Regions from separate parts of the Homo sapiens genome. Here region 1 is linked to region 2. Evidence: promoter capture Hi-C in human tissues and cell types (Jung and others, 2019). All regions are on one chromosome and are shown on one strand. Each heading gives the region's core, a stretch centred on a gene start or on the middle of the fragment in contact. The rest is flanking DNA. Distances are from core to core; before and after follow the strand shown. Region 1 overlaps AFAP1L1 (actin filament associated protein 1 like 1). Region 2 holds the start of RBM22 (RNA binding motif protein 22).

What was found. The method cuts DNA at HindIII sites, captures the fragments that hold promoters and counts their contacts. A contact is called where the count stands out against the background at its distance.
Region 1: a fragment that was not itself captured here is called in contact with the fragment with the promoter of RBM22 in region 2 in 1 of the 25 tissues and cell types used here (pancreas).

The regions. Positions count from the first base shown.
Region 1 is chr5:149,335,245-149,342,377 of GRCh38, forward strand. AFAP1L1 (actin filament associated protein 1 like 1) reads left to right here. Exons shown (of 19, transcript NM_152406.4): 18 at 350-478; 19 at 4,763-7,133. The coding sequence ends at 4,786. Among named protein-coding and RNA genes, the nearest start is that of GRPEL2, 6.7 kb to the right of the region's middle. The HindIII fragment of the contact is 4,849 bases long and covers 1,673-6,521 here.
Region 2 is chr5:150,697,465-150,704,434 of GRCh38, forward strand. It overlaps RBM22 (RNA binding motif protein 22), which reads right to left and starts at 3,598. Exons shown (of 11, transcript NM_018047.3): 1 at 3,468-3,598; 2 at 2,980-3,033; 3 at 1,778-1,807; 4 at 1,035-1,167. The coding sequence starts at 3,521. RefSeq lists enhancers at 2,840-3,616, 3,617-4,393. The HindIII fragment of the contact is 5,081 bases long and covers 1-4,894 here.

The DNA of each region.
Region 1 (7,133 bases), core at 2,847-5,346, 1.4 Mb before region 2:
TGGGAGGCCAAGGTGGGTGGATTGCTTCAGCCCAGGAGTTTGAGACCAGCCTGGGCAACTTAGTGAAACCCCATCTCTACTAAAAATACAAAAATTAGCCAGGCCTGGTGGTACACACCTGTAATCCCAGCTACTCGAGAGGCTGAGGTATAAGAATCGCTTGAACCCAGGAGGCAGAGGTTGCAGTGAGCCAAGCTCGTGCCACTGCGCTCCCGCCTGGGTGACAGAGACTCTGTCTCAAAAATAAAAATAAAAATAATAAAGTGTCCTCATGCTTTTGAGGGCAGGCTGGGTGTGTAGGTAGCCATCACCAGATCTCACCTATATAATTATTTATTGCCATCAACAGGAAACTGCAAATAAACCCCAGAACAGCGTTCCAGAGCAACCTCTCCCTGTCAACTGTGTTTCTGAGCTGAGGAAGAGGAGCCCATCCATCGTAGCCTCCAACCAAGGAAGGGTGCTACAGAAAGCCAAGGTAGAGCCATAGTTCTGCTCCTCAAAAATCAGAGATCTGGTAGCCCCCTTTCTATGGAACTTCACCCAAAACCAAAAAATCAACTAGTGAGAAAGGTAGAGAATTGCCAATGCATTTATACAATGAAACTCATGAACCTTCCTCAGAAGGGGTAATCCTCAGATCTTATTCAGAACCTATTCACTCTTTGTTAACACATATTTCTAACAAGCTTAATCATCTGGTTTCTGAGCCTACAATGTGTTTTCAGACAGGACAGGTTCCATTTCATTGATGAGGTAACTGAAAATCGAGGACGATGGGACTTGCCCAGGGCTATGCAAGGTATCACTGCAAAAGCAAAGAAGCAAACCCACCTCTTCCAATTCTAAGTCCATGGCTCCCTCCAGGATGCTGGTCCACAGTCCCTTCTGTGTGACTCTTGGGGGTCAGCTGTGTTTCAGAACTTTTTGGATTTTATAAAGGTAATATGGTACCTACACTAACACATGATGAAAACCTCAATATGTCCTCAGGTGGTACCATGTAAGCAAACATGTTAATAATTCTACGGCAAGACATAGGAATATATATAGCACATGGAGTGAATAAAGATTATAAACAGTCATATCAGGTCAGGTCAAGTTTTGCCACCAAATGAGTCTATACCAAAACAATGGAGAAATATTTTGGTTTCACAGCTTTCTGGATTTCAGAATTGCAGATAAAAGTGTGGACCTGTCCTGGTCCATTTTTTGCTGCTTATAACAGAATACCTGAACCTGGATCATTTATAAAGAAACAGAATGTATTTCTTAAGAGTTTGGGAGGCCGAGAAGTCTCAGGTTGACGGGCCATATCTGGCAAGGGCCTTCTTGCTGATGGGGTCTCTCTGCAGTCTGGAGGCGGCCCAGGGCATCACAGGGTGAGGGGGCTGAACATGTTAGCTCAGGTCTCTCTTCCTCTTTTTATAAAGCCACCAGTTCCACTCCCATGATAACCCATTAATGCATTAACTCATTAATGCCTTTATCCATGAACGGATTAATCCATATTCATGAAGATAGAGCCCTCATGACCCAATCACCTCTTAAAGGCTGCACCTCTCAATACTGCCACATTAGGGATTAAATTTCAACATCAGTTTTGGAGGGACAGACATTCCAATCATAGCAGGACCTGAAAAACAAATGCCAGGCACATCAGATATGCTCAGGAAGCCTTTCTAGACCTGTCTGGCAGCAGCACAGAATGTCTGAAAAACTGGTAGGAGATGAGACTGGAAAGACAGTTTGATATAGAAGGACCTAAATTCCAAGCTAAGAAATGTGGAGACTGATGAGTTTTCAAGGAACAATCTCTTTTTTAAATATGAAAATATAAAATTAATCTTTATTAATTTAAAATAAAAGGGGGAGAATGGAATGGTGGTTGCCAGAGGCTGAGGGCTGGGGGAACTGGGGAGATGTTGGTCAAAGGATACAAAGTTTCAGTTTTAAGAAGACTAAGTTCTGGGGATCTAATGTACAGAATCATGGCTACAGTTAACAATACCATATTGCATACTCGAAATTTGTTTTAAAAAGTCACTTTTTACTGTTCTCACCACACACACACACACAAATGATAACTAGGTGAGGTGAGATGTGTTAACTAAACTTGACTGTGATAATCATTTCACAATATGTCAAATCAAAAAAATAGTTCAAATTAGAAACATAATAAAAGGGGGAACACCCTATTTAAAGTAGTGGAAAACTCCAATTTCGTTCATTCAAGAAACACATATTAAGCACCTGCTAAATGCTTGACACTTCACTAAACACTCTTGAACATGTTCCTTCATTCCATCTTTGCAATAACCAAGTAAAGTGGGCATTCTTAGCCCCATTTCACAGCGGAGAAGACTGAAGTTTAAGTGGTAGATAAACCAGTGAACAAGACAGATGAGGTCCTGGTTTTCAAGGAACTTCCAAGCCAGTGAAAGGAGACAGATAATACATAAGTGCCCTGTTAATGTAAGAAGATAATTCCAGAAAGTGATACAACTACAAATATATACATATATATATACATATATATAGAAAGGGACAGAGACTGGGAGTAGGGTTGGAGCAATATACACAGTGGTCAGAGAGGGCCTCTCCTAGCAGTGACCCAAATGATGGGAAAGGAACATGAGAAGATCTAGAGCAGAAGCTTTCCAGCAAGAGGGGACAGCAGGTGCAAAAGCTCTCAAGCGTGCCTGATGGCCAGATGGAGGCCAGAGCAGCTGGAGCAAAGAGGGAAAGCGAGCGTGGAAACCATGAAGGGGGAAGAGGCAGGCAGTGCCTGATCATTTATGAGCTGAAATTGCATATCATATTAGAATACATTTAAAGGACAGCTGTTTATTAGCTTCATATCAACACTGCTGTGGGAATCGGCAACATTTTGTCTAGGATCACACCAGCACGGACTTTTAAAATGCATGGCTTGGCCAGGCACAGTGGCTCACACCTGTAATCCTAGCACTTTGGGTGGCTGAGGTGGGAGGATCCTTGAACCCAGGAGTTCGAGATCAGCCTGGGCAACATGGCGAAACCCTGTGTCTACAAAAACTACAAAAAAATTAGCCGGGTGTGGTGGCACATGCCTATAGTCCCAGCTACTCCATAGGCTGAGGTGGGAGGATCACTTGAGCCCAGTGGGAGGGGTGAGGCTACAGTGAGCCCTGATCACACCACTGCACTCCAGCCTAGATGACACTAAGTGAGACCCTGTCTCAAAAAAAGCATGGCTCTATGTCTAGGCTGGAGCTGCATCCTCAGGTTGGAATTGAATTTCAGAGCCTAAGAGGGAAGAGTCTTTATTCTTTCCTACAGTTAGTCATTAAACAAATATTTGTTGAAGACCTACCATATGCCAGTCTTGTTCTAGTTTCTGGTTACATAACAGGGAACCCAAAAAAGTCCCTGGTCTCATAGAGTTGGGAAGACAAGACTTTAAATACCACACATAAATAAAGAATGTGATGCCAGAGAAGATGAACGTCCCAAAGGGGCTTAAGCACAGTGATAGCAAAGACCCTTTCAAGAAGGTGACACATAGGCAGAGACCTGAATGGAGTGTGAGGGAGAAACCCATGCAGGGGGCTGAGGGAAGGACGAACCAGGCAGAGAGAAGAGCAAGTGTCAAGTCCCTGAAGTGGGAAAAAGCTTGGCATGTTTGAGGAACATCAAGAAGATCCAGGTGATTCCAGTGAAAGGAACAAAGAGTGAGCATTAGGAGATGAGATCAGAGAAGTAACCAGTGAGGGGCCAGATCATCTAGAGCAGCAGTCAGCAAACTTTTTCTGTAAAGGGCCAGAGAGTAAATAGTTTAGGCTTTCTGAACCATATGATCTGTTCCACAGCCTCTCAACTCTGCCATTGTCGCATGAAAATAGCCATGGACAATATGAAAATGATGATGAAAATGGCTGTGTCCCAATAAAGCTTTTTTTTTTTTTTTTTTTTGAGACGGAGTCTCGCTCTGTCACCCAGGCTGGAGTGCAGTGGTATGATCTTGGCTCACTGCAACCACTGCAACCTCCACCTCCCAGGTTCAAGCAATTCTCCTGCCTTAGCCTCCTGTGTAGCTGGGATTACAGGTGCACAACACCACACTCGGCTAATTTTTTTGTATTTTTAGTAGAGACGGGGGGTTTCACCATGTTGGTCAGGTTGGTCTCGAACTCCTGACCTCGTGATCCGCCCACCTCGGCCTCCCAAAGTGCTGGGATTACAGGCATGAGCCACGGCACCTAGCCCAATAAAACTTATTTACAGGCACTGAAATTTGAATTTCGTATCATTTTCATGTGTCATGAGATAGTCGTCTTCTTTTGATTTTTTTTTCCAAACATTTAGAAATAGGAGCTGATGGATTATATGAGAATGGACAATAGGCCAGACTTGGCCCACAGACTATCATTTACCAGCCTTTCATCTAAAGCCTTTCAGGCCACTGAGGAACCATGGATCTTGTTCTAACATAATGGATCTTGTTGTGACATGATGGAAGGTTTTGAGCAAAGGGTTTTGGATATAAATTACATTTTTTAAAGACCATTCAGGCAACTATGTTGAGAATGGATGAAGGGACAAGAGATACCAGCATGGAGAAGTGACTTACTCAGGGCCACAGAAAGAGAGAGAGGGGGTTAGAACCCAACGCAACCTGGCTAGTGGAGATCTTCATCTAACTAGGTGCCGTGAAATCTCTTTATCCATGTCACACTAGACCATTCAGCAAATTGATTTGTCTTCTCTTTCTGTGCTTCAGGAATGGGAAATGAAGAAGACCTAGGAAGAGGATGAGGATTTCATTCCAAAGGAAATACCAGCTTGTCCACCTGAGGAAGAAATGCTTTTTTCACAAGGAGACACCAAGAGAAGACTAGGAAGTAGCCCTCGTTCTCCAGGGCACCCAAAATACCAGCCTTTATTGTCTGCATGATTTTAGGGGATATGGGGAGGGAACAAGTAGAAGGGAAGAGGGAAATGGAGAGCATCCTTATGACTTTACAAAGGGTGGAAATGAGGATGGAGGGATACAGAAGTCTGCACAGCTGTAAAGGTTTTATAGATGTCTTTGCCTTCCCTTCTGAGGAAGGGAAGAAGTAATGAAAGCACATGTGAATAACCCCTTCCATCCCATTCACAGCATCGCACTCCCAGTCCTTAAGGCAAAGGGAGGCAGTGCTGAAGCATTGGTGGTGCAGTGTAAAGAGACAAGACCTGATCATCTGATCACACTTGTGCCAACTTGATTCATATTGGGCATTACTAACAACCCCTGGTCAAGGTAAATAGGTTGAACAATCAATAACATTATCCCTGCCTGCATACATGTGAACAAAAGCTATAGAGGACATGCAAATTCTACAGTCATTCCTCATATGCTTTAGACAGAGTGCAGCTACTGGAATCTTCCAGATTTCAGTGTTTTAAAATCAGAGCTCTGAATACACAAAAGGAAAGAGAAATGGAGCAGCTGACATATTTTAAGCTCACAGTGATACTCAGTGACAGGAGCACAGAGCTCTAATGTCCACAGGATGTTGTAGGGTAGGGTCTCTCAGTAAATCAAGTCCCTTACCTATGTTCTGACACTGAGGCTCTTGGAGCTATGGGTTAGAAATCCAGGAGGCAATATGTCTTTATTCTAATGAAGTCCTCATCTTGCACTCAGAGGCCCACTAGTTTGCCCTTCTATATATTAAGTAAAACCAAGAGAAATTAAGAGGATGATGGCTTCTTTCTGTCACATGGGTGCTAAACCTTTTACAAACACTTGATACTTCTATAGAGGGACCAAGGACCTCAAGTCCTGGGCAGTCTCCTTACTGTGCTACTCACTACTGTCTCAACACTGTAGTGAGTCTGTCTTTAACACATTTCCTTCCAATAAAGATAAAACCACTTAACTCTTAAGTGCCAGTGCTTAGCTCAAGAGGAAAGAAGGAAAATCCCAGAATAACCGTGGCCACTTTGCTATAGGGGTTACATATTTTAACCCACCTAAGGTTTTACAGACTTTAGCCTCACTCAAACTTTATCACCCTCTGAGGTAGCTGGAGACCACAGCAGGAAAAATAACCTGACCAGTAATCACCCACTGATTAGTGGCAGAGCGTAGGACTTAGGGGTTATAAGCCCAGATCCAGATAGGGCTAGGTTTGAGCCATGCCTCTAATGACCAGCTGGGTGACCTTGGGAAAGTCACTTGATTGCTCTGATTCTTGTTTTCCTTATCTGTGAAATGGGACTAACAATTGTTACTTTTCTCCCAAGATTGTTGGGAAGATTTAATAAGATAATATATAGTAGGCATCTTGCATAGTGTCTGAGAAATAAGAAATGCTCAGTCAATAGTGGCTCTCATTAGCCAGGCATGGTGGTACTCGCCTGTAGTCCCAGCTACTCAGGAGGCTGAGGCAGGAGGACCGCTTGAGCCCAGGAGTTTGAGACTGTAGTGCACTATGATCACGCCTGTGAATTGCCACTGCACTCCAGCCTAAGCAAATAGCAAGACCCCATCTATTAAAAAAAAAAAGTGGCTATTATTAGCTATATCAGAAATGTCTGACTCACAAGCCTGTGTTCTTTCCACTGAAGAGGAAATTACTTTTCAGTGTTCTTTTTTAAAACGTGGATCCTGAAATGTCACCTAACTCTCCAACTATGTCTTCAGTGTCTGTCATACTCTTTCTTATGCAGTTATTTTGGGGTTAAGTGTCTTTTCTCACCAACAGATGAACTCTCAGAGGAGTGGCTGGGGGTAATTAATAATTAACATTTATCAAGCACTCACCATATGTCAGGCACTGTGTCAGCCATGGCCAGCTTCACAGGCATGCAACCTGTGCAGTCACACAGGGCCCCATGCTTAGAAGGGCCCTGTTCTTGGTTTAATGCTCTACTATTGCCTTCTTAATCATATTTGAACAAGGAGTTCTGCTTTTCCTTTTGCCCTTTAAATTAGATAGCCAGTCCTGGTGCTAACTAACCACTTTTCTAGGTATTATCCCTTTAGTTTTCACTGAAACCCTGAGATAAGTTATATTGCCCTAGTTTTCACAGTTCAGGAAATGGAAGCTCACAGAGGTCAGGTAACTTGTCCAAGCTCCCATAGTTCTTATATTTACATGCTG
Region 2 (6,970 bases), core at 2,348-4,847:
AAACTGTGCCCATGGTCATATTCAACCTGTAAATTAGCTCCTAGTTTTTATTACAACATGATTTATTTAAAGTAAATGTAAAAGTGGTTTCTTTCTAGGTTAGTCTTACAGATCCTCTGGATAGTCACAGTCATCTAAGGGTCACTGTACTCCAGGACCAGACGCCTCCTTAACAAACATATAAATAATATTACATAAAATGTGGCCAGGACTCTGACTAGAAGAGTAACTCTAATGAACTTAACATACATAAACTCATATATTTTTCCCTTTCCTTTAATAGTAAAAACTCTTGTTGAAAAATTATCTTTCTGAAAAACAGTCACCTATGGTTAAAAAAAAAATTACTCCCAAAAGCAGTTACTCTGAAACAGTAGCAATATATCAGTTCTAACAACACAATTGAAATAAAAGTCTAAAGCACAATTAGGCTGGCTATAGTGGCTCTGGGAGGCCAAGGTGGGAGGACTGCTTGAGGCCAGAAGCTCAAAACCAGCCTGGGCAAAATAGTGACACACACACACACGTGCACTGGGTGTGGTGGTATACCAGGAGGCAGAGGCAAGAGGATCCCTTGAGCCCAGGAGTTCGAAGTTGCAGTGAGCTGTGATCACACCACTGTACTCTAGCCTGGGTGTCAGAGTGAGACCCTAACTCAAAAAATAAAATAAAATAAAGCACAATTACCCTGTGAGCTTCTGATTGGGATGGTGGAAAAAAGCTCTGGATCAAGAAAGAAGCCTAAGGCAAATAAATTATCTATCATAGGATCAACGCCTTTTACCTCACTTGGGCTACAGAGATGAAGGTTTAGGCCACTTTTGATTAATTCCCAACTTTTCCTTAAGTTCCTACTATTGTTCAGGACTCTAGAGTGGCCTAATTATGGTTCTTTTCCTGGGAAAAGCAGACCACGGCAGACATTCCAAAGTGAAATCAGAACCAGAGCTAGGGTGCGAAGTGGGAGACAAAAGACTGACTTGTAGTTTTAGGCACCTGCACACTTTCAGATTTATTGGACAGGTCAAACATACCATACTCTAGGTCTAAGAGGCAGGTCTGACAGACATTCTTCAATTTACTGCAGGTTTGGCACACTTCAGTCTTCTTGAAACGCATGCGGACTCCAGGGCACCAGCGAAACACTGTGAATGGCCTGGCACAGATCTGGAACACAAAGCAAGAGCCATAGAATGTCAATGGTCCTGATCTGGGCAATCTGGAGATCTGATAACAACGGGGCATTCAAAAAAGGATCCCTGAATGTAGGATTTAGAAGAGACCTTAGCAATCATCTAGTTGATTTGATGTTTCAATACAATTTTCAGCATCCTTCTCCAGCAAAAATTCAGAGTACAGAAATGAAATAGCCAAAGGGTCAAAGTTCTTCCCATCCTAGAGCTAAGCACCAATAATAATCTGAACCTTAATCTTTTTTAGGGGGAGTGGGGAGTGTCATGTAATTTTTTGAGAAGCTTCTGACAAGAATGACCTTCCTCCTCAGCTAAAATGCTCGAGTGGACAGTCATACACCACCTGGTGTACAAACTCCTCCAGTGCCCATCCACTGACACCGTAAGAATCTCTACATTAGAGGGTTCATTTTCTTACCTCCCACATAAACAGTTGCCAGCCAATGAATATATCAGTAATACATAAAAAGTTGTATAGCACTGATTTTTACTGGAAGACCTCAAAACTTAGTAAGCTGAAGGCTAATTTGGTAGAGAAAAGAAAAATGAAACAGAAATCATTACTCTTTAACAGACATACTTACTTTGCATTCCTTCCCATACTTTTCTTTGGTCTATAATAGAAAAAAAATAGAAAAGAACTGGAGTTACAGAAAGAAAAAAGCCAGATGTCTACTCTTTCCTTAAACATAACCCAAGAAATGTGTCTGGAAATCCCTGGCATCCTAGAGAGAGAAAAACAGCAACAACAAAACCCAAAACCCAACCTTTTTTGGGAAGAGGGTAGGGAACATACTATAACAACATATTATAAGTGATAACATCTCAAGAGTATATGGATCTGGGCTGGGTGGCAGTGGCTCACGCCTGTAATCCCAACACTTTGAGAGGCCAAGGTGGAAGGATTGCTTGAGCCCAGGAGTTCCAGACTAGCCTGGGCAACATAGCGAGATGCTGTCTCTACAGAAAAAAGAAATAGAGTATATGCATCTAATGCTAGGTAAGTGAGTGTCTTTCCACAGCCACAACTCTTAGGTTCATTTTTGGCTCCCAAGTTCACTCCCAAGAACTAACATTCCTAATGCTTTCCACAATCCCTAAATCAGAGAGGATACAGCTGTGGCCCGCCCACTTTACAAAGTTTAGTCAAAAGGTAGCTACTGTAGACTTGTCCTGTGCCAATGCCCGGAATATAGTAAATGTTCTGTTTAAACAGAACTATTCAAACATCTTGAACCATTCAAACATCGTGAACATACTAACATATCAACACCTCTACGACTACACAATAATACAGCCCTAACCTTATTATTGTTAACTGGTTCTAATTTTACCCTAGTTTGTAACAAAGGGGGAATGCTTACTTTAAAGAGATAAAGTACACTGGCCAAAAGGCATTTGACCAGGATTCAGGAAACCTAGTTTCTAGTTCTGGTTCTCCTCCTATCATGCTGACATTCCTAGAGCCAGAATATGTGAACTTAAATCCCAGCTCCATTCCTTACTATTGTATGAAAAGACACAAACGCTCTCACCTTCTGGTCAACAGACCTATTTCCTAGGTAAATGCTCAACAAATACTAGCTATCGTTATTACCCCTACATTACAGGAGTGTTACCGGATTCGTAAGAGAATACACATGACAGTTCTTTGCAAGTCGTCCAGCACTTCGCGTTAGTAAAAGAGCATCATTTTTTCTGCTTGTCTAAGAGAAACACTTCACAGTGTGCAAGTACCACAACATCGACAGGACATGAATAACTCGTTTCACACGCGATCACTCACCATTCGGATATATGGGTTTTCTCCAAGACATGTCTGGCACAGAATGGGGAAGTCCTGGTGAAAATGGGAAATCTGGTTGAGGACCACCCTCCGAAGACCCTGACACCTCAGTGACACTTGGGGTGGCGAGGGGGCGGGAAGCGAGGGTGGGGAACTAGGCACGGCAGGAACCCGAAGTCCATCACGACCCGATCGCGGGAGGGGGCGCTGTCTGCACTTCCGGCAGGCGGCGGGAGAAAAGAAAACCAGCTCTAATAGGCTGGAGGGGGCAGGGATGGAAAGGGTGCTGGTCCCGGGACCCTGGCTAAGCCCCCTCCCTTCAAGCCCGCAGGAGGATCGCCCTCCGCCCTCCTGCTCCGGCCAAGCTAGGCCGCCGCGCTGGCTCCTCCCCGGTATTCCTTCGGCCGCGCCGCAGGCCCTGTCCTGCCAGCTTGCAAGGTGCGCGGCTTCGCCTCCTCCTTCCATCCTCCTCCGGCAGGCACACTCACCGCATCCTCCCAGTTCTGCCTGTTGTAGGTGTTGGAACCCAGAGAGGTCGCCATCTTGAGAGCGTCCGGAGGTAGCTGTAGCTTCCGAATTGGGAGAGAGGACCGCCACAATCCCGTCAAGCCCCGAGGCTAGCGCCGCGCCGGTCGGCGTCTTATTTACGCGTCTAGGGCTTCTTCCGGGGCGGGGCCTTTGCGTCATGACGTCGCCCGCTCTTGGAATTTCTAAGCTTAACAATTGGGGTCCTGGTATAATGCACCTGGATGCTTCCTTCGAGTTTTTGCCTGCTTGGAATGAAGGGCCACACGTACAGTTGATTCATTTAACAATTGGGCGAAAGAATAAAGGAAGACGTAATGCATCAGAGGCTGGGGTTAAAATAGCGTTCGCTACCACTGAGGCGCTTATTATGCCAAACTCTGGGCGAACGTCTTGCGGTTCCAGTGTCTTATTTATTCGCATAACCTCTCTGTAGGGCTCTCTGTAGGGCTGCCAGATTCTGATTCTGTCTCTCTCTCTCTCTCTCTCTCTCTCTCTCTCTCTCTGTCACTCACACACACACATGCACACACACACACGCACGAATTACAGAACGTCTAAAGTTGAATTTCAGATTAACGGCGAATCGCTTTTTAATTATAAATATATATGGTACCTACTCGTCCTAAAGTAGGATTCGTGGTTGACCTGAAATTCACATCACTTAACCAATCGTCCTGTATTTTATCTGGTAACTCTACCCTGTAGGCAAGTATGATGATCCCTCTTTTATAGAAAAGAAAACAGGTTTAGAGAGATTAACCTAATCTCTCCTGATATAGCTCCTGGTTGTGGAGCTAAAAAGTGGTGAAGCCACAAATTCATTAGTACTGTTTCATTTCCAGCTTCTGAAATGACAAGGGTCTTACGAATCAACATATGCATTATTTGATTTTTGGAATAACTCATAACCACTCTGCCAATATTTTATGAGTTTCAAGCCATTCTGGTACCACTTTCATACTTACCGTGTCATCAAGCTACCTAACACATTTATTTAAATCACCTCATTAAAAAAAAAAGTTGATTTAAAGTATAATTTACATAAAGTTTTATCCTTTTTAGTTTTGAATTTTGTACATACATTCACTTACAGTCAAATATGGAATTGTCTGTCATCCCCAAAGTTCCCTTGTTTCTGTAGTTAGTCCACTTATCCCATACTCAAACCATGGCAATCACTAATTTGTGTTCTGTCCCTAGTTTTGCCTTTTCCAGAATGTCACATAAGTGGAATCCTATATATCCTTTTGGATCTGATATTTTTTCACTTAGTATTTTGTAGTTGAGATTCATCCATATTATTACATGTATCAATAATTTCTTCCTTTGTATTACTGAGTAGAATTCCATTGTATGGATATATCATACAATTCACTTGCCAGTTGCTGGATATTTGGGTTGTTCCCAGATTTTAGTGAATATAAATAAAACCATTATAAACATTCACATACAGATCGTTGTATGGACATTGGTTTTCATTTTGCTTGTGTAAATGCCTTAGAGTGAGATTATTTGATCATATGGTAAGTATATCTTTTCCTTTATAAGAAAGTCCTTGGGTTTATCTGAGCTTCTTGGATCTGTGATTTGTTGTCTTTTATTATATTTGGAAAATTCTCAAGTATCATCTCTTCAGACTGTCTTCTGCCTGGTTTCTACATCTGTGACTCCAATTTCACATGCCTTGTGAGGAGTGCAAGGTCAGAAATAACAGAGTCCACGTACATTTGTGTTTTTCCACAATGCCAGACTTTTACTGATGCTATTTCAATCACAAAAGCCACGAACTACATGGAGTTTCCAAGAAAGCAATTCTCCTTAGTACTTCCCACTCACTCAGCACTCAGAGTCTTGGACACACAGGCTCAAGGCACTCCACAGGTCAATCAATATTGCAAATCATGCATAATGGTATACTTAATCAACATATATATTATAGAGTGAACATTCCACAAACAAAATAACATTTAACATTAAGAGAAAAGAGATAGGACCCTTTTCTCCTTTAAGTCTGGAGCCCTCAGAATCATCTCCTTTCCTTCCTTTTTCCCTCTTTCCTCCCCCAATTTATTTTTTAATCTTTGTGGGACATGACTTCTAGGAATGAGCCTTCCTAGCAACATGGAACATGACTTCCTAGGAATGAGCCTTCCTAGTAACGTGAGACCTGAATTTCCTGGAATAAACCATCCTAGCGACAAGAAACCAGCTCAAAAAAGGAGGAAAAAGCGAACTGAGGCCAGGAACACATATTCCTTTTAAAATGCTTTCTCCAAAAGATGTTAAAGAAAAAAAGGGGGAAATGTGAAAGGAAATTAAATCTTGGGACCCCAGACTCATTAAGCCAAAGGGAAAAGTCAAGCTGGGAAGTGGGTCACACAAACCTGCCTCCCGCTTTTGGTTCCTAAATAAGATGGCTACAAGATGGAAAGCTACATGCCTCCCCCATATTTTGCCCACAAGGAAATTCCTAGTGAGGAATTTTACTTTCCTAGAAAGGAAAAAAGAAAAGAGATGAAAAAATATATATAGGGACTAGGCCAGATTTATAGCAACAAAAGGAAAGCAAACCTGGAAGCTGGGTCAAGCTTTATTATATTACTGCCTCCTCAATTAAAGCAATTCTCTGGGCAATCATTACCTTAGCCCTTTCGGTTGCATATTGACTTATTTGCAAACACGTACTATAACAACATTGTAAGCAGAAACAGGACAGAACATAAATTATTCCTTCTATTATAAGCAATAGCTTCTGCCACTAAATTCCCCAGGATCCAAACCAACCACTCAAGCAATGGATTAGTGAGGGTTTTGGATCTGACAGTTGCTTATCTGGGTTTTCATACTGGTCATAATTCAGTTTATGTTCTTTGATTCATCTGGAATATACACACAACATTCAGTTTTTACGGTGGCACAGGTTCCCCTTGTGCTGCCATGAGTATATCTAAAGCCACATAGTTTTGCAACACAGCTTTCCTCATAAGCATGACCTCATTGCTTAGCAAAGAGGTACTCATGCAGCTACCATTTAGGGCCTTTGGGTGTAATTCGTTATGGCCTCTATATGCCATATAACATCTTCGATACCTATCTGTGGTACAAAGATTGAAGCTAAGTGATCATAGCACTGGAATACCAAACATGTCCAATGAGATTGTAAATGAAAAAGGTTTGCTGGTTTAATGGAAGGGTCTGAATTACTGGGCAACATATGGGGGAGGCATGTAGCTTTTCATCTTATAGCCATCTTATTTAGGAACCAAAAGCAGGAGGCAGGTTTGTGTGACCCAGTTCCCAGCTCGACTTTTCCCTTTGGCTTAATGAGTTTGGGGTCCCAAGATTTAATTTCCTTTCACAATATATATAATCCATATTTTCCTTTTCTTTTTTTTCGAGATGGGGGTCTCACTTTGTCACCCAGGCATGATCATAGCTCACTGTTACCTGGAATTCTTGGGTT